Linked DNA regions of Homo sapiens: all the other regions are linked to region 4. The links are contacts of gene promoters, found by promoter capture Hi-C in blood cells and fetal thymus (Javierre and others, 2016). All regions are on one chromosome and are shown on one strand. Each heading gives the region's core, a stretch centred on a gene start or on the middle of the fragment in contact. The rest is flanking DNA. Distances are from core to core; before and after follow the strand shown.

Region 1 (3,324 bases), core at 295-2,794, 160 kb before region 4:
CCTCCGCCTCCCAGGTTCAAGCGATTCTCCTTGTCTCAGCCTCCCGAATAGCTGGGATTACAGGCATGCGGCACCACACCCGGCTAATTTTGTATTTTTAGTAGAGACAGTGTTTCACCATGTTGGCCAGGCTGGTCTCAAACTCTGACCTTAGGTGATCCGCCCGCCTTGGCCTCCCAAAGTGCTGGGATTACAGGCGTGAGCCACCGCGCCCGGCCCTTCTTTCCTCTTTTTTTGCCAAGCAGGCAACTTTTAAGATCTTTAACCTTCAGAGTTGTTTTAAGGTGTGTCTTCAAGGAAGTTTGAATAAGGAAGGGCACTTTGAATACTTGACTAAGTGGAAATTCAGCATAAAGTGTTGACTGTCTGAATTTATTGAATTCCCATTGTGCAATCTTTAAAGTTTAAATATGTGTAATATTTGACCCAGAATTTTCTTCTAGATATTCAACAGAAATACACACACAAATGAATACGTCTTTACTTTTTTTTTTTTTTCTTGAGATGGAGTCTTACTCTGCCGCCCAGGCTGGAGTGCAGTGGCACGAACTCACCTCCCTGCAGCCTCTGCCTCCTGGATTCATAGGATTCTCCTGCCTCACCCTCCTGAGTAGCTGGGATTACAGGCACGGGCCACCATGCCCGGCTAATTTTTTTGTATTTTTAGTGGAGACTGGGTTTCACCATGTTGGCCAGGCTGGTCTCAAACTCCTGACCTCAGGTGATCCACCCACCATGGCCTCCCAAAGTGCTGGGATTACAGGCTTGAGCCACCACACCCAGCCAACATTTTTTAATAATAACAAAATACTGTAAGCAACCTAAATGCACATCAGTAAGGGGCTTGGATAGATAAAATTATAATGCATGTAAAATGCAATACTATGCAGTCATTACAAGGGATGAAGAAGTATATTTACTGATGTGGAATGATACCCAGAATAATGGGTTAATGAAAAAAGTTACCACTCAGTGTAATGCCATTTCTAGAAATAATATTAATAAGTGTAAACATAGAATATGTATATAAAAATCTAGAAAAGTACCCATTAAACTGTTGGTAGTGATCCTCTAGAGGGGATAAGATTCTAGAACACTTTCACTTTCTAAAGTCTACATTTCTTTTTATTTATTTATTTATTTTTTGAGACAGAGTCTTGCTCTGTAGCCCAGGCTGGAGTGCAGTGGCACAATCTCGGCTCACTGCAAGCTCCGCCTCCTGGGTTCATGCCATTCTCCTGCCTCAGCCTCCCAAGTAGCTGGGACTACAGGCACCCGCCACCACGCCCGGCTAATTTTTTGTATTTTTAGTAGAGACGGGGTTTCACCGTGTTAGCCAGGATGGTCTCGATCTCCTGACCTCATGATCCACTCGCCTCAGCCTCCCAAAGTGCTGGGATTACAGGCGTGAGCCACCACACCCAGCCTAAAGTATACATTTCTATAATGGGATTTTTCTTTCTTTTTTACAATTTTTTTTGAGATGGAGTTTCAATCTTGTCGCCCAGGCTGGAGTGCAGTGGTGAGATCTCAGCTCACTGCAACCTCCACCTCTGGGGTTCAAGCAATTCTTCTGCCTCAGCTTCCTGAGTGGCTGGGATTACAGGCGTCTACCACCACACCTGGCCAATTTTTATATTTTTTAGTAGAAACGGGGTTTCACCATGTTGGCCAGGCTGGTCTTGAACTGCTGACCTCAGGCTATCCACCCACGTCAGCCTCCCAAAATGCTGGGATTACAGTCCTGAGCGACCACGCCGGGCCTGCAGTTTTTTTTTTTGAGACGGAGTTTTGCTCTTGTTGCCCAGGATGGAGTGCAGTGGTGTGATCTCAGCTAACTGCAACCTCCACCTCCCAGGTTCAAGTGATTATCCTGCCTCAGCCTCCTGAGTAGCTGGGATTACAGGCACGTGCCACCACACCCAGCTAATTTTTGTATTTTTAGTAGAGACAGGGTTTCATCATGTTGGCCAGGCTGGTCTCGAACTCCTAACCTCAGGTGATCCACCCGCCTTGACCTCCCAAAGTGCAGGGATTACAGGTGTGAGCCACCGCGCCCGGCCTACAGATGTATATTAAAGTCCACTATCTGAATATCTTATTCTGCAAATTCTCTGAGATTCTCCATTAGCCATGAGACAATGTGCAATTCCATCTGTGTTGGGTAGGTCCTAAAATTTTCTTTAGATAGCCTTTGGTAATGAGATTTAATGATCAAATGGTGAACTTTAGTATGTACGTGCTAGGTCTTCCTGCTCAGACATACCAAAGCATTGGCCATTTAATATAGAATCTTTATTATGAATGGCTGGAGAATTCACTAAGTTAGATAGATACACTAAGAGGAAAATGACCTTTAAATATAAATAATTGTATTTTCCCTTACCTCCAGGCTATTCTGCACCTAAATTTGTTTCAATCTGTTCTAAATATTACTATAGATGACAATATTATAATCTTTATTGGTCATATGTACCCACAGTACAGGGGAACATTTACTATCATGTTCTCTCTTTTCTCAGTTATTTTCTTTTTCTAAATCCAGTCTCTTTCTTGTAGTTATACAGGTGTTTGTTTTATAATTATTTTCTTAAAACTCTACATATATGTTTTTATACTTTTGTCTATTATTGCATATTCTTAATAAAAAAGTTAAAAACTCGTTTGGAAAGTTTTGTATGTTTTGAGATGCTACAATAGGAAAGTGTGACATTCAAAAATGTAGTTTCTTTATCCTGATCTTCATCATTTCTTTATACTGCTTCTCATTTATAGTTTTGTTGACAATCTGATGTCACTGTCACTGAAACAGAAGTTACATGGTCAGGAGGAAATGAGACAACAAAAGAAAACTTTCTTCCAGTTGCTTTAATATTGGCTAAAATGTTTGCACACCTGTTAAGATTTATTACGAGAATAAATAATGCCTACATAATTACGTGTTCTGAAGGAAGTTATAGTTTAACTTTAATTAGGTAGCTAAACTATAAAAAAAAACAAGTGTTAACCTAAAAAAAAAGCCTACCCCTTCCTTAAAGAGGAGTCACAAATATGAGTTGGGGCCAGGCACAGTGGCTCACACCTGTAATTTTAGTACTTCAGGAGGCTGAGGTGGGCATACCACTTGAGCTGAGGAGTTCGAGACCAGCCTGGGCAACATGGCAAAACCCCATCTCTACTAAAAATACAAATATTAGCTGGGTGTGGTGGCACGCGCCTGTAGTCCCAACTACTTGGGAGGCTGAGGTGAGAGGATTGCTTGAACCAGGGAGGTGGAGGTTGCAGTGAGATGAGATCATGCCACTGCACCCCAGCCTGGGCGAC
Region 2 (3,775 bases), core at 512-3,011, 180 kb before region 4:
TGAAAATGAACATTGTTATACAACATGTATATTTCTCACATTATGTTCAATAAAAAAAGCCAAACACAAAAATATACATACTGTATGATTCCATTTATATGAAACTCAAAAAACTATTGTATTTGAGGTTGCATATTTAGGTGGTACAATTATAAACAAAATCAAGCCAGGAATTACTATAGTTTTTAGAATAGTGATTATCTTTTTGTAAGGGATAGGGGAAGGAAAAGGGTGTTAGTAATTAGGAAGGAAAATGGAGAGGATTTCTAGATAGTAACAATTTTCTGTTTCTGGACCTAGAGGAAGTTTCATAGTTTTGTTTTTGTTTTTGTTTTTGTTTTTAAGACAGAGTCTTGCTCTGTCACCCAGGTTGGAGTATAGTGGCACCATCTTGGCTCACTGCAACCTGCGCCTCCCGAGTTCAAGCAATTCTCCTGTCTCAATCTCCTGAGTAGCTGGGATTACAGGCACCCGCCACCATGCCTGGCTAATTTTTGTATTTTTAGTAGAGATGGGGTTTCACCATATTGGTCAGGCTGGTCTTGAACTCCTGACCTCTCAGGCGACCCACCCAACTTGGCCTCCCAAAGTGCTGGGATTATAGGTGTGGCCTCCCAAAGTGCTGGGATTACAGGCGTAAACTACTGCTCCCGGCCTTTTTTATTTATTTATTTATTTTTGATACGGAGTCTTGCTCTGTCCCTCCTGGCTAATTTTTGTATTCTTAGTAGGGAAGGGTTTTCAGCATGTTAGCCAGGCTAGTCTTGAACTCCTGATCTCAAGTGATCCACCTGCCTTGGCCTCCCAAAGTGCTGGGATTACAAGCGTGAGCCACTGCACCTGGGCCATAGATCTTCACTTTGGAATAATTAAGCTTTTTACTTTGTTTTGTTTATTCTTCTGTGTGTACATTATATTTCACAATGCAAAATATTTTTTTTAAAGTAAACAACAATAAAAAGCAAGTTTTTGCATGTTAGAATGAGCCAAGGGAGTTAGAGAGAGGAGAAACCATCATGAGATAGAGTAATCCGGGGAAGAATAGAAAAAGGCAGTAAAACAAGCCATGCCTTTAAAAATGGGAGGATTAACATGAATGGAGAAAAGGAAACACGTTCTGGATGAGGGAACCTGAGTGAGCAAAGGTATCATGAGCTTGATGAGTTTGGGAGATAACTGTGAGTAGGCCAGTATGACTGAAGTAGGTGGAGAACAATGGGATTCAAAATCAGTAAATTCGATTTGGACCAGATTATAGATTTTGTTACCAGGCAGAGACTTTTAGACTCTTTCCTTTAGGGAAAAGAGAATCAGCCTAATGAAAACAGCAAAGCCCATTTCATTTTTGTGTCCAAATTAAGGGCTTAATAACATTTTTATGTTCTTTGTGAGTATGTTTTAATGTGTATATAATTGCTTGTTTTTACATGGTTTGGGATTTGTGACAAGTCAAAAAAGGAAAAAATCCTAAATGTTAAATTTTGTGTCCCAAACTCCCAAACTTTTACTGGAGAGTTCCCTAAGATCCTCTGTTTAGAACCCAGTATTATCATTTTTTTAGAAACTATGTGTCTTTCAAGCAGGCACGGTGGCTCCTGTCTGTAATCCCAGCACTTTGGGAGACAGAAGGATTGCCTGAGGCCAGGAATTCTAGACCAACCTGGGCAACATAGTGAGACCTCATCTCTACAAAAAATATAAAAATTAGCCTGGCATGGTGTCACATACCTGCAGTTTCAGCTACTTGGGAGATTGAGGCGAGAGGATTGCTTGAGCCCAGGAGTTCAAGGCTGGAGTGAGCTGTGTTTGTGCCACTGTACTCCAACCTGGGTGACAGAGTGAGACCCTGTCTTAAAAGAAAAAAAAAAATTCTTCTGAGGGGTAACTACCACAGACTGGTTTTAAAATATTAAGCATCTGGCCAGACGCAGTGGCTCACATCTATAATCCCAGCACTTTGGGAGGTTTGAGGCGGGCAAATCACTTGAGGCCAGGAGTTCGAGACCAGCCTGGCCAACATGGTGAAACCCCATCTCTACTAAAGGAAAAAAAAAATTAGCTGGGTGTGGTGGCATGCACCTGTAATCCTAGCTATGCTGATGGGAGAATCTCTTGAACCCAAGAGGCAGAGGCTGCAATGAGCCAAGGTCACACTACTGCACTCTAGCCTGGGTGACAGAGTAAGACTGCCTCAAAAAATATAAACTAATTAAATTAAATATTAAGTATCATTGTCTTATGAAAACAATCAAGAAATTTAAATATAATTTGAAGAGTATAACCTTTCAAGCACAGTTAAAATTAGATACTATCTCAGTTCAATAACACTGACCTCAACTGAGAAAGTAAACATTGAGCACAAGCCTGACCAAAATAAAATAGGTTTATCTCCTGTTGAAATCAGGAATCTGCTTATTTGTTATTATTGCCTTTGGTAAGAGTTTTGATATAGATTATTAACTCATGAACAGTGTTTTAATTGACTTGCTAATGTATAAAACTTTTCATTTATTAGAATCGTTTCTTAAGTTACCTGTAAGGGGAGTAAGCCAATTACTGCTTTTGACTCCTAGTGGTCTTTTCATTTCTCATCTATTTAATTTGTGGATAATGTTTTTCAACCATCCTCTCTTTCTTGGAAAGCTTTCTCCTAGTAATGCCATTTATTGAATACTTACTACTTACTGTGAAAGAAAAGCTTTTCATCATATTTCTCATGTCACTGTGGTAAAAATTGGCAAGAAGTATTATCCATTGGAAATATGGCAATACATTTTCACTTATTTGTTTAATCACCAAAAATTTTATTGAATGACTCATATGTCATAGAAAGAGAGAACAAAAACAATTGTCCCTGCTTTTGAGGTCAATTTATGGTTTAGTGGCATAGGGATGGTTGGAGATGCTGGGAGTAGAAGCCAGAAAGTCAGCAGACCATTTCAGAACAATGTGATATGTGTATAAGTGTGTTCTGAGTAGGAAGGAAACACAGAGGAAAAGCACGTAAATCAGATGGGTGGTGGGAAGGAGCAGTAGGAGAGGGAAGAAGAGATGTTGGGAAAGACTTACAGGAGGTGATAACTCTTTTTTTTGTTGTTTGTTTGTTTGAGATAGAATCTCATTCTGTCACCCAGGCTGCAAAGCAGTGGCGTGATCTTGGCTCACTGCAACCTCCACCTCCCGGATTCAAGCGATTCTGCTTCCTCAGCCTCCCAAGTAGCTGGTATTACATGCACCTGCCACCATCCCCGGCTAATTTTTGTATTTTTGTAGAGACGGGGTTTCACCATGTTGGCCAGGCTGGTCTTGAATTCCTGACCTCAGGTGATCCAACTGCCTTGGCCTCCCAAAGTGCTGGGATTACAGGTGTGAGCCACTGCGCCCCGCCAGGAGGTAATAACTCTTAACTGGAATAAGAGTGAGTTAGTCTGTAAAGAGACAGGTTCTAGGAAAAAAGAACATCAACTGGATGTTCCTAATAATTTCAGTGATGTGCAACTGGAATAACCACAGATGTCTGAAAGCATCCCATCTCCTTTTAATGAACTCCAGTGTTTTAAAACTGAAGTATGAGAGCTGAACATCCAGTTACATGCTTTATTGTTTAAGTTTTCTAAAATTGTGAAATACAGTGTATCCAGAAAATTGTATAAAGCACATATATACAGTTTAACAAGTAGTTTGAAAGCCAACAGTCATGTAATCACCAATAGAACAATATCAGCATCCTGGAAGGCTTCTCTTATGCCTGCCCCTAATCACATGCTGCCCACTT
Region 3 (3,369 bases), core at 185-2,684, 200 kb before region 4:
AAGGAGAGAAGGGAGAACGTGAAAGGGAAAACCAGAAGATAAGAAACAAGGGGGAAAGATCTACTGAGTGCTTACTTTATATTAGGCTCTGTTCTTTGGGGCTTTATGTGCATTATCTCATTTATTCATCCCAACCTTCATGAGGTAACCACTATTAGCATCTCCGCTTTACAGATGAGGAAATCTAAGTACAAGGGGTTTCTTGCCTAAGGTCATAGTGGCTGAAGTGGCAGAACCAGGTTTTTGAACCTAGGAAGGCCAGTTCACAATTTGGGTGTTTACCCATTACGCTATAGCTGTTACAATATAACGTTTCATTCAGTCAAGGAGAGGTAGATTTAAACTGGTGTTAAAAATAGACGTTTAAAAACATCACTATGTAAGCAATGAAATATAAAGAAAGCAATAGAAGTATTCAGGCTTCAGGAGGGCTGAGAATGTGTCTTTTCTTTGATACTCACACCTGCGATTAATGCTTAATATGTATCCATGCTGACAAAGCAGATCATTTGGGTAAAGGCTGTGAATTAATAGATTGTGTTCAGAAAACTAATTGATTGTTCAGAAAATGTTCATTTATTTTCATATGTTATATAGTTGTGCATTTTTTCTATCAGTAAATTAGCAACCTTGTTGATACAATAATAATATTTATTGAATGTTTACTATATGTCAGGTACTTTATAAAGTACCCTGTATAAATTATCCCATTTGTGAATATTTATTCACAACTATCAATGAGATATGTACTGTCTTTAATCTCTTTTTTAGCTGGGGAAACTAATACTTAAACTAAGGCTTAAGTGGCTTGCCTGTGGTTACAGTATAGCAAAGATTTATGCCCTGTGTTAGCCACTCTGCTGAGGTATGTTGCCTCCCTTATCTGCCTGCTAAGGAGTTCCTTCCATGTGGTATAAATAACTGAAGGGGTGGCCTGCCCCTCCACACCTGTGGGTATTTCTAGTCGGGTGGGACGAGAGACTGAGAAAAGAAATAAGACACAGAGACAAAGTATAGAGAAACAATAGTAGGCCCAGGGGACCGGCGCTCAGCATACCAAGGACCTGCACCGGCGCCGGTCTCTGAGTTCCCTCAGTTTTTATTGATTATTATCTTCATTATTTTAGTAAAAAGGAATGTAGTAGGAGGGCAGGGTGATAATAAGGAGAAGGTCAGCAACAAACATGTGAGCAATAGAATCTATGTCATAATTAAGTTCAAGGGAAGGTACTATGACTGGACGTACACGTAAGCCAGATTTGTTTCTCACCACCCAAACATCTCAGTGGAGTAAAGAATAACAAGGCAGCATTGCTGCAAACATGTCTCGCCTCCCACCATAGGGCGGTTTTTGTCCTATCTCAGAATTGAACAAATGTACAATCGGGTTTTATACCGAGACATTCAGTTCCCAGGGGCAGGCAGGAGACAGTGGCCTTCCTCTATCTCAACTGCAAGAGGCTTTCCTCTTTTACTAATCCACCTCAGCACAGACCTTTTATGGGTGTCGGGCTGGGGGACGGTCAGGTCTTTCTCATCCCACAAGGCCATATTTCAGACTATCACATGGGGAGAAACCTTGGACAATACCCCGCTTTCAAGGGCAGAGGTCCCTGCGGCTTTCCGCAATGCATTGTGCCCCTGGTTTATTGAGACTAGAGAATGGCGATGACTTTTACTAAGTATACTGCTTGTAAACATTTTGTTAACAAGGCACGTCCTGCACAGCCCTAGATCCCTTAAACCTTGATTTCATACAACATATGTTTCTGTGAGCTCCAGATTGGATCAAAGTGGTTGGGTCAAAGTGGCTGGGGCAAAGCTACAAATTAACAACATCTCAGCAAAGCAATTATTTAAAGTACAAGTCTTTTTCAAAATGGAGTCTCTTATGTCTTCCCTTTCTACATAGACACAGTAACAGTCTGATCTCTCTTTTCCCTACAATAACATACATTACAATGAGTTGGGAAATAAATGTCTCTCCAAGACTGAAGCCCCAAACCCAAACCATGAAAACTGACTATGAGGAATCAAAAGTTTCAATGGATCAATAGGGATTAATATGGCAGAAAAAAGTATTGACTAAATGTTGAGTCATACAAAACAGAATATAGCTATTTAGCAGCTAGTACTGAATATCAGAAGCATAACTGCGATATTTTCTATTTAAGACAATTTCAGAATGTTACCAATTCAAATTCAAATACACCAATAATGGACCACTCATGGACTTCATAAGGTATTGTTCTATAGTTTTCTGTTTGTATTACAGATTACCACTTATTCATATTAATGCTATATAGCTAAACCTCAGGATTCATTCTGAAACTGCGGGGACATCCCCAATTAACCATCAAGATGTGGCTATGCAAAATGGAGTGGTGGCTTGCAGTAGCTTCAAGCCAGGATTCTGTGGCTAATAATAAGCAATTTTAATTGTGGAAAGAGAACTTAGGTGATTAGAAATATAGAAATATAATTTTAAAACATAATGTGCTTTCTTTAAACACTTCATATAAAATGCACTTAAGTAAAATTAAGTTATTATTTCTAGCAGATATTAATATTAAAATTTTATAATAGTGACATTAAAACACATGGTAACTTTCAAGTTAACAGCTTAATGCTATAATAGAAATAAGAATCTCAAATAGTTAAAATGTAAAGTTATGATATTAGAAGCCACAGGTTTTATAAAATAAATTAATATGTGATTCTCTTCTAGTAAAAACCAAAGCAACGAATCTAGCATGTTGTCTACTGACACCAAGAAAGCAAGCATTCTCCTCATTCGCAAGATTTATATCCTAATGCAAAATCTGGGGCCTTTACCTAATGATGTTTGTTTGACCATGAAACTTTTTTACTATGATGAAGGTACTATTTGCAATACATCCTGTTTCAGTTGGTACATATGTTTTATCATTATTGAAACAATTGGTTTCCATTCCAAATATTTTTAGCACCTAAATTTTTTGAAATTATAAAATTTACACTTAATATCACTATTCAAGAAAGAAAGATTTACAAAATTAAGCTTTAAAATAGATGCTTCTCTAGTGATAGGAACATATCCATGTGAAGTATAACCTCACTCAAATTTAACAATGAGTTAACAGTTTTCACTTATCAGATTGGTAAAACGTGTTAATCCATTATTGATAAGGATGTGGGGAAACAGGAACTTTTTTTTGTTTGAGACAGAGTCTTGCTCTGTCTCCCAGGCTGGAGTGCAGTGGCATAATCTCAGCTCACTGCAGCCTCCACCTCCTGGGTTCAAGCAATTCTCCTGTCTCAGCCTCCTGAGTAACTGGGACTACAGGCACTCGCCACCATGCCTGGCTAATTTTTGTATTTTTAGTACAG
Region 4 (3,309 bases), core at 107-2,606:
GGAGGCTGTGGAGATCAAGAGTGTAGGACAGACAAGCAAGACACGAGATGCCCCTCTGTATTCACCTGCCCCGTGTCCCCTAATCCTCTCCCAGCCCCAACACACCTAGACATGACCAGCTGGGTTCTGAGAAAGCCTGTGGCGGTCTGATAGCTCCACCTCTACTGGCTCAGAGGTTGGGCCTAAAGGGAGTATGGCATACGGGATTGGGGAGGGAGGCCCTCATTTCCTCTGCCAGTCTTTCCCTCAGGGCTGTGGGTTGTCCTCCCCAGTCTCTGCTGGGATGCGTCTCTAGCTTTCAGAGGAAAAAGTCTGGACCTTGAGCTGGTTGGAGCCTACCCAATCCACCTCCTCCACCCACCCTCCTACTCCAGGCCCTTGAAACATCTTTAGGCCTTTGGTTAAGGAGGCTTCCTGAAGGTTGAGTGCTTCCCCTTCAGCCAGTCTCAGCTCCGCCTTAGTTTAGGTCTCAATTTAGGGCCTGGGGGACTGGGACAGGCACAGGGAAGGGTCACTTGTAGGTGATCTGCAGACACAAAAGACCAGGAGCTGGGAAGAATGATGGCATGGGGCTTCACAGAGAAGTGGACAGATTTGCTGACATCCTCAGCAGCTTCCTGCAGGAGTGCCCTGGGTGGTTTTTTTCCTTTTCTTTTCCTTTTTTTCTTAGTTTCCACCCATAGCATTGAGGGGTTCCTGTTTTGTTCAGGCATCAAAGCAGATAAAGAATGTGTTTGTGCTGGATGGAGGGTGGGTCTGTGGATGGACACCCCTCAACTCCTCTAATCAGACAGGGAGTCAGTCGAGGCTTGCTGGGCCAGCAATCCGGTTTTGAGCAGCCTGGGGGCCCCTTTTCCCTCCCTTGCCTCTCCCACCAGCCACCTCCCTACATCCTCATCAGCAGGAGACCCTCACTCTGTGAACCCACCCCCCACTCAGTTGTCTATTTGACTGGGATTCTGTGTTTCTTGGCAGCAGTTTCTAGGAACCCCTCTCCTTCTGTGCCCCTGCTCTCTGCCTCCTTGGTTAAAGGCTCCACTGGCCTAGGCCCACTTTGGGCCTGCTCAGAAAAGGAAAGCCAAACGGAGAATCACTCTGCTAGTGATGAGCCGTCTGGGATGCCTGGACCCAGACCCCTGCCATGCAAGCCCAGACCCCCTCCTAAGTGCTGATCCCCCAACTCACCTCCCTCAGAGGCAGCAGAAGCAACAGCCAAATAGGTCAAGACCAAGGCTGCTCTGGCTGTGGTCCCCATCCTGGGGCAACTGACCACTGGACACTCAGAGGTGGGTCCTCTCAGGCAAGTCTGGATGTGAAGGGCCGGCCACTGAAGCTTGTCTGGTGGCTGTTACGGTTGTGAGCTTCAGGACCAGCTCTTCTTTTATAATTGTCTGGTGTGATCTCCCGCCCTCCTCAGCTTCCTGCCATGACTCAGTCCCAGCTGCTCCTCCTCTGGAAGCCACTCCTCCCAAAGTCACCCTGAAGCCTCCTCAGAGGATTGAGAAGAATGGGACTGATTAGAGGAGAACATTCTTATGACCTTCAAGAGAAACTGATTCAGAGAATCCAGGAGCAAGAGGTGTTTGAGCCCCTAGTTTGTGCCTCAGTTTCTCCATCTACAGGCTGCCTTCTGTGGAGAGGGGATCTGCCAACTCATGAACTGGGGTTGGGGAAACAGGGCACAAAGGAGTTTACAGCGGGGAGCAGGAAACCTATCCAAGGGATCTCCCCTACCAGTGTGAGGTCTGGACTGTCCCTTTTCAATTTCCCTAACTCTCTGGGACAAAAAAGAGGGAGACAAAGTGGAACATCCTTTTATCCCACCTCTCCAGAGTCAGAGATGAAGACATATGACCAGCAGCTTCCAGTTTGTATTTATTTATTTATTTATTTATTTAGAGACAGAGTCTCGCTCTGTCGCCTAGGGGGGTGCAGTGGCGCAATCTCAGCTCACTGCAACCTCTACCTCCCGGGTTCAAGCGATTCTCCTGCCTCAGCCTCCTGAGTAGCTGGGATTACAGGCGTGTGCCACCATGCCCGGCTAATTTTTTGTATTTTTAGTAGAGACAGGGTTTCACCGTGTTAGCCAGGGTGGTCTTGATCTCCTGACCTCATGATCCGTCCGCCTCAGCCTCCCAGAGTGCTGGGATTACAGGCATGAGCCACTGCGCCTGGCCCAATTTATTTTTTTTTGTAGTTTCATTCTCCTCACATCCAAACAGCTACAGCTTCCCTCCTTTTGTGGGGTCCCCAAACCAAGTCTCTTTTCAGGAGAGCAGACATGTGCCTCCACACAGTTCTGAAGTTCTGGGGGCTCCACATTGTCAGCTGGGTTGGGGTCTCCCATGTGAGGGAGGCTGATGGCACTCGCAGGTTTTTGCCTCATCTATGTACAAAGGCTCAGAAAATTTCTTCGGCATTTGGGACCCTCGTGTTCTGTAGCTCCACCAGTCGCTGCACAGCCTCAGGCAAGTCCCACTCCCCAAGGCGACGATTATCTCGAGTCCGAATGTTCACTGTTCTCTTACTTTGCTCTTTCTGGCCAACCACTGCAGGTAGAGGAAGTTTGGGAACCTCAGGGCAAATTCACCCACATGGAACAGTTTCTTTTGCTCTGCAGAAACTTGAGAGACCTAAATCTTTAGGAAGGGTGGGAGCAGAGCCCAGATATGGTTCACAGAAAGGAAGTATTCAGCTGTGTCTGCTAATACTAAATGACCAGTCCTGCTCATCCTGAGGAGACAAGGAAGTGCTTCAGTCCCCGCAGGCCTTATCGCTTCTGGTCAAGAGCCCCAGGGTCAGAGACATAAGAGTCAAGCAGAGAAAGACAAACACTGAGAACCCCACAGAGAGAAACTGTGTGTGTGTGTGTGTGTGTGTGTGTGTGTGTCAGAGACATTAGAGTCAAGCAGAGAAAGACAAACAATGAGAACCCCACAGAGAGAAACTGTGTGTGTGTGTGTGTGTGTGTGTGTGTGCGCGCGCGTGTCTGAAGGGGGTATTAGAGCAAGTGGAAGGTGGCAGGAGTGGTGTGGCCTTCACACTGCCCCGCCTCCCCCCAACCACTCTGACCCTTAGAACAGTTTCCTCTCATCAGTCCCACTCTGGCTCTTGGTGTCTGTTAGGGCTGGATTCACAGAGTGAGGGGCCTCTGCTGAGGAGGATGTATGCAGGGGCTGACTGGGCGGTAAGGGAGGGAAAGGGGCCATGTACAAGTCCCTGGGATTGCAGCACAGCTTGCTCTGGGTGCTTGTAGGGAGAGTGGGGTGTGCAAAACTCAAGAATCAGGTAATCTGGCTGAGGAGTTTC
Region 5 (3,809 bases), core at 1,005-3,504, 140 kb before region 4:
TTGTGTTAATATTGCTATATGTTTCTTTTCTTTTTTTTTTTTTTTGTTTTTTTGGCTTTTGGGTTTTTTGTTGTTGTTGTTTTTTGTTTTGTTTTGTTTTTTTAGACAAAGTTTCACTATGTTACCCAGACTGGTCTTAAACTGCTGGGCTCAAGCAATCTGCCCACCTTGGCATCCCAAAGTTCTGGGATTACAGGCATGGGCCCACCATGCCAATATTGTTACACGTATTACATCTCTATGTGTTACAAATTCAACAATTCATTGTTGTAATTATTAAAGAAGAGAAGAAAGCACAAATATATACTTATAGAGTTTGTTATATTAACCTCCTTATTTACCATTTCTGGTTTTCTTCATTTCTTCCTGTGGATTCAAGTTACCATCTGTTGTCATTTTCCTTACTTCAACACAACTTTTTTCCCACCCTCTTTCTTTGTGCTATTATTACATTTCTATGTGTTATAACCTTGCGCAAAAGTTTAAAAAGTTAAAAATTATAACTCAACAATAACAATTATATAAATATTGTTTTGTGCAATTGCTTTATAAATCAGTTGAGATGAAGTATCCAATTATACCATCTTTTTTATTACTTACATAATTACTTTTACTGTTTGTTCACGTGGATTCAAATTACTGTCTAGTGTGTCCTGCTCTCAGCCTTAACAACTTCCCTTTAGTTTTAGTATTAATATTTCTTATAAGCAGGTCTGCTAGCAGTGAACTCTTTCAGATCTAGGAATGTATTTATTTTTTCTCCTTTTTAGAAATTTTTCTTTGCCTTCATTTTTGTTTTGTTTTTTTTAGGGTTTTTTTTTTTTTTTTTTTTTTTTTTTTGAGACAGAGTCTCACTCTGTCACCCAGTCTGGAGTGCGGTGGCACGATCTCAGCTCAATGCAACCTCCACTTCCTGGGTTCAAGTGATTCTCCTGCCTCAGCCTCCTGAGTAGCTGGGACTACAAGTGCATGCCACCACACCTGCTTTGCTTTTATTTCTGAAAGATAGTTTGCCAGTTATAAGATTCTTGGCTAATAGTTTCTACCCTCACTTTGAATAAGTCTACTCATTCTTCTGGCCTGCATTTTTTCTAATGGGAAGTCAGTTATTAAGCTTACAAAGTTCCACTGTGATGTGATAAGTCATTTTTCTCTTCTGCTTTCATGATTTTCCACTTATTTTTGGTTTTCAACATTTTTACTATGATGTTGGATATGGGTCTCTTTGTGTTCATCCAACTTGGAGTTTGTTGAACTTCTCCAATGTGTGGTTGAGTGTTTTTCATCACGTTTGGCAAGATTTTAGCCATTACTTTCTTGAGTATTTTTTCTGCCTCTTTCTCTCCTTTCCTTCTGGTGCTTCCATTTTATGTATGTTCATCAAGTTGATGATACTTTATATTTCTCTGAGTCTGTTCATTTTTCTTCATTCTCTTTTCTCCTTGTTCTTCATATTACATAATTTCTTTGATCTCTAAGTTTGCTAATTCTTTATTTTGCCAGCTCAGATCTCTTGTTGGATCCCTTGAGTGATTTTTTCATTTTGTTTGTTGTACTTTTTTTTTTTTTTTTTTTTTTGAGTTTCGCTCTGTCGCTGAGGCTGGAGTGTAATGGTGTGATCTTGGCTCATTGCAACCTCCGCCTCCTGGGTTCAAGTGATTCTCCTGCCTCAGCCTCCTGAGTAGCTGGAACTACAGGCACACACCACCATACCCGGCTAATTTTGTATTTTTAGTAGAGACAGGGTTTCACCATATTGGCCAGGCTGGTCTCAAACTCCTGGCTTCAAGTAATCCGCCTGCCTCAGCCTCCCAAAGTGCTGGGATTACAGACGTGAGCCACCATGCCCAGTCTGTTGTACTTTTAAACTCTAGGATTTCTAAATGGTTTTTTTGTTTTTGTTTTTTTGAGATGGAGTCTTGCTTTGTTGCCCAGGCTGGAGTGCAGTGGCACTATCTCAGCTCATTGCAGCCTCCACCTCCCAGGTTCAAGCGATTCTCTGCCTCAGCCTCCTGAGCAGCTGGGATTACAGGTGCCCACCATACCTGGCTAATTTTTGTATTTTTAGTAGAGATGGCGTTTCGCCATGTTGGCCAGGCTTGTCTTGAACTCCTGGCCTCAAATGATCCACCCACCTCAGCCTCTCAAAATGCTGGGATTACAGGCGTGAGCCACCGCACCTGGTCTAAATGGATCTTTTTTATAATTTCTGTCTTTATTTATATTCTCTATATGATAAGTCATGGTTTCCCTTAGGTCTTTGAACATATTTATAAAAGCTGCTTTATAGTCTTTGTAAAGTCCAACATTTTAGCGTTCTCAAAGGCAGTTTCCATTGCCTGCTTTTTTTCTTCTGAATGGGTCAATGGGTCACAATTTATTCTTTGTATACTTCATACTTTTTTGTCAAAAACTGGACATTTTAGATAATTGTGCAACTCTGGATACTACACTGCAGCTGTCCCCAACTTTTCTGGCACCAGGACAGGTTTCGTGGAAGACAGTTTTTCCACTGGGGTGGGAGACGGGGGGATGGTTTCGGTATGATTCAAGTGCATTGCATTTATTAGAGTCTCACAAGGAACATGCAACCTAGATCCCTCCCATGTGCAGTTCACAATAGGGTTCACACTCCTGTGGGAACCTAATGCCACTGCTGATCTGATGGGAGGCAGAGCTCAACTTTACTCACCCATGGCTCACCTCCTGCTGTGCAGCCGGGTTCCTAACAGGCTGCAGACCAGTACCAGTCCATGGTCCAGGGGTTGGGGACACCTGCTATACTGGTTTCTCCTTCCCACTAGAGGTTGATTGTGTTGTTTGCTTGGTAATTTGTTTCCTTAGTGACTTGCCTGCAGCAGCTCTCTGAAGTCTGTTTCTCTTGTAGTGTGCAGCCTCTGATGTCACTGCTCATATTTTCTTGTTTTTATCTTTTGGCCTAACTCCCTGTGTGTTGCCAGTGGGTCAGTAGAAGCCACTTATTAGTCAAAGGTTGTGCTTAAGACCTTTTAGCCAATTAAATTTTTTTATCCTTTACTGTTGGATATGTGTGTGTGATTTTGACATAGCCATCACAAATCAGGGAGTTTACATTTTGCCCCACATTCAGTGAGGAACTAGCAGCTTGGAAGTTCCCTCTCTGATTTCTTCTCGGAGAGAGTACATCCTTGGACATACACCAGGGATGTATGTGATTTTTTTAATTTTATTTTTATTTTTTATTTTTCATTTCTTGAGATGAAGTCTCACTCTGTCACTCAGGCTGGAGTGCAGTGGTACAATCTCAGCTGACTGAAACCTCCGCCTCCTGGGTTTTCCTGCCTAAGCCTCCAAGTAGCTGGGACTACAGGCGTGTACCACCACACCCGGCTATTATTATTATTTTTAAGCTTAGCTTTCTAGGAGTTGCCTCTGAGTTAGGGTAGCTTATTGTTCAGCCAGTGTTGGTTCAGTGGTTGTGCTTTAGCCCTTGGTGCCAGTGAAGCATCCACCCTTTTTTGATAGATCTATGTGTGGTCTGGGGAATACTCTCAAGTCAAGCCCCACGTCCTGCTCTGATTGCTCCTGAGTGGGTGCAGCCTGGTGCAAGCACACAGTCTTCCCAACCCCCAGTGTTGGTCATGATTCCAGAAGGACTTTTCTTGGCTTTCTGTTTCTCTGGTTCTGCCTGTTAAACTTCTGGAGGCTTTGCCATTTGGGTTTGTCATACCAGTGCCATAGAGCTAGCAGCACCTTGTAATTGCTCTCCACCAAGATCTCTATGGTTTTCAACACCCTTAGGCATAGAATTCTCCACACTGTGTTCCAAA

Evidence for each region. The method cuts DNA at HindIII sites, captures the fragments that hold promoters and counts their contacts. A CHiCAGO score of 5 or more calls a contact.
Region 1: a contact is called between a fragment that was not itself captured here and the fragment with the promoter of ECM1 in region 4, in 1 of 17 cell types (neutrophils). The highest score is 6.6, in neutrophils.
Region 2: a contact is called between a fragment that was not itself captured here and the fragment with the promoter of ECM1 in region 4, in 1 of 17 cell types (neutrophils). The highest score is 7.6, in neutrophils.
Region 3: a fragment that was not itself captured here is called in contact with the fragment with the promoter of ECM1 in region 4 in 1 of 17 cell types (neutrophils); the score reaches 5.5 in neutrophils.
Region 5: a contact is called between a fragment that was not itself captured here and the fragment with the promoter of ECM1 in region 4, in 1 of 17 cell types (neutrophils). The highest score is 5.1, in neutrophils.

Annotation. Positions count from the first base shown.
Region 1 is chr1:150,668,419-150,671,742 of GRCh38, reverse strand. The region is part of intron 2 of GOLPH3L (golgi phosphoprotein 3 like); the gene reads left to right. Among named protein-coding and RNA genes, the nearest start is that of GOLPH3L, 27 kb to the left of the region's middle. The HindIII fragment of the contact is 5,826 bases long and covers 1-3,324 here.
Region 2 is chr1:150,688,083-150,691,857 of GRCh38, reverse strand. The region is part of intron 2 of GOLPH3L (golgi phosphoprotein 3 like); the gene reads left to right. Among named protein-coding and RNA genes, the nearest start is that of GOLPH3L, 7.2 kb to the left of the region's middle. The HindIII fragment of the contact is 1,769 bases long and covers 877-2,645 here.
Region 3 is chr1:150,707,767-150,711,135 of GRCh38, reverse strand. HORMAD1 (HORMA domain containing 1) reads left to right here. Exons shown (of 15, transcript NM_032132.5): 8 at 2,175-2,242; 9 at 2,729-2,880. Among named protein-coding and RNA genes, the nearest start is that of HORMAD1, 11 kb to the left of the region's middle. The HindIII fragment of the contact is 3,217 bases long and covers 1-3,042 here.
Region 4 is chr1:150,506,156-150,509,464 of GRCh38, reverse strand. It overlaps ECM1 (extracellular matrix protein 1), which reads right to left and starts at 1,356. Exons shown (of 10, transcript NM_004425.4): 1 at 1,186-1,356. The coding sequence starts at 1,255. It overlaps TARS2 (threonyl-tRNA synthetase 2, mitochondrial), which reads right to left. Exons shown (of 18, transcript NM_025150.5): 18 at 1,863-2,549. The coding sequence ends at 2,401. The HindIII fragment of the contact is 8,833 bases long and covers 1,336-3,309 here.
Region 5 is chr1:150,649,412-150,653,220 of GRCh38, reverse strand. The region is part of intron 4 of GOLPH3L (golgi phosphoprotein 3 like); the gene reads left to right. Among named protein-coding and RNA genes, the nearest start is that of ENSA, 22 kb to the right of the region's middle. The HindIII fragment of the contact is 2,275 bases long and covers 1,117-3,391 here.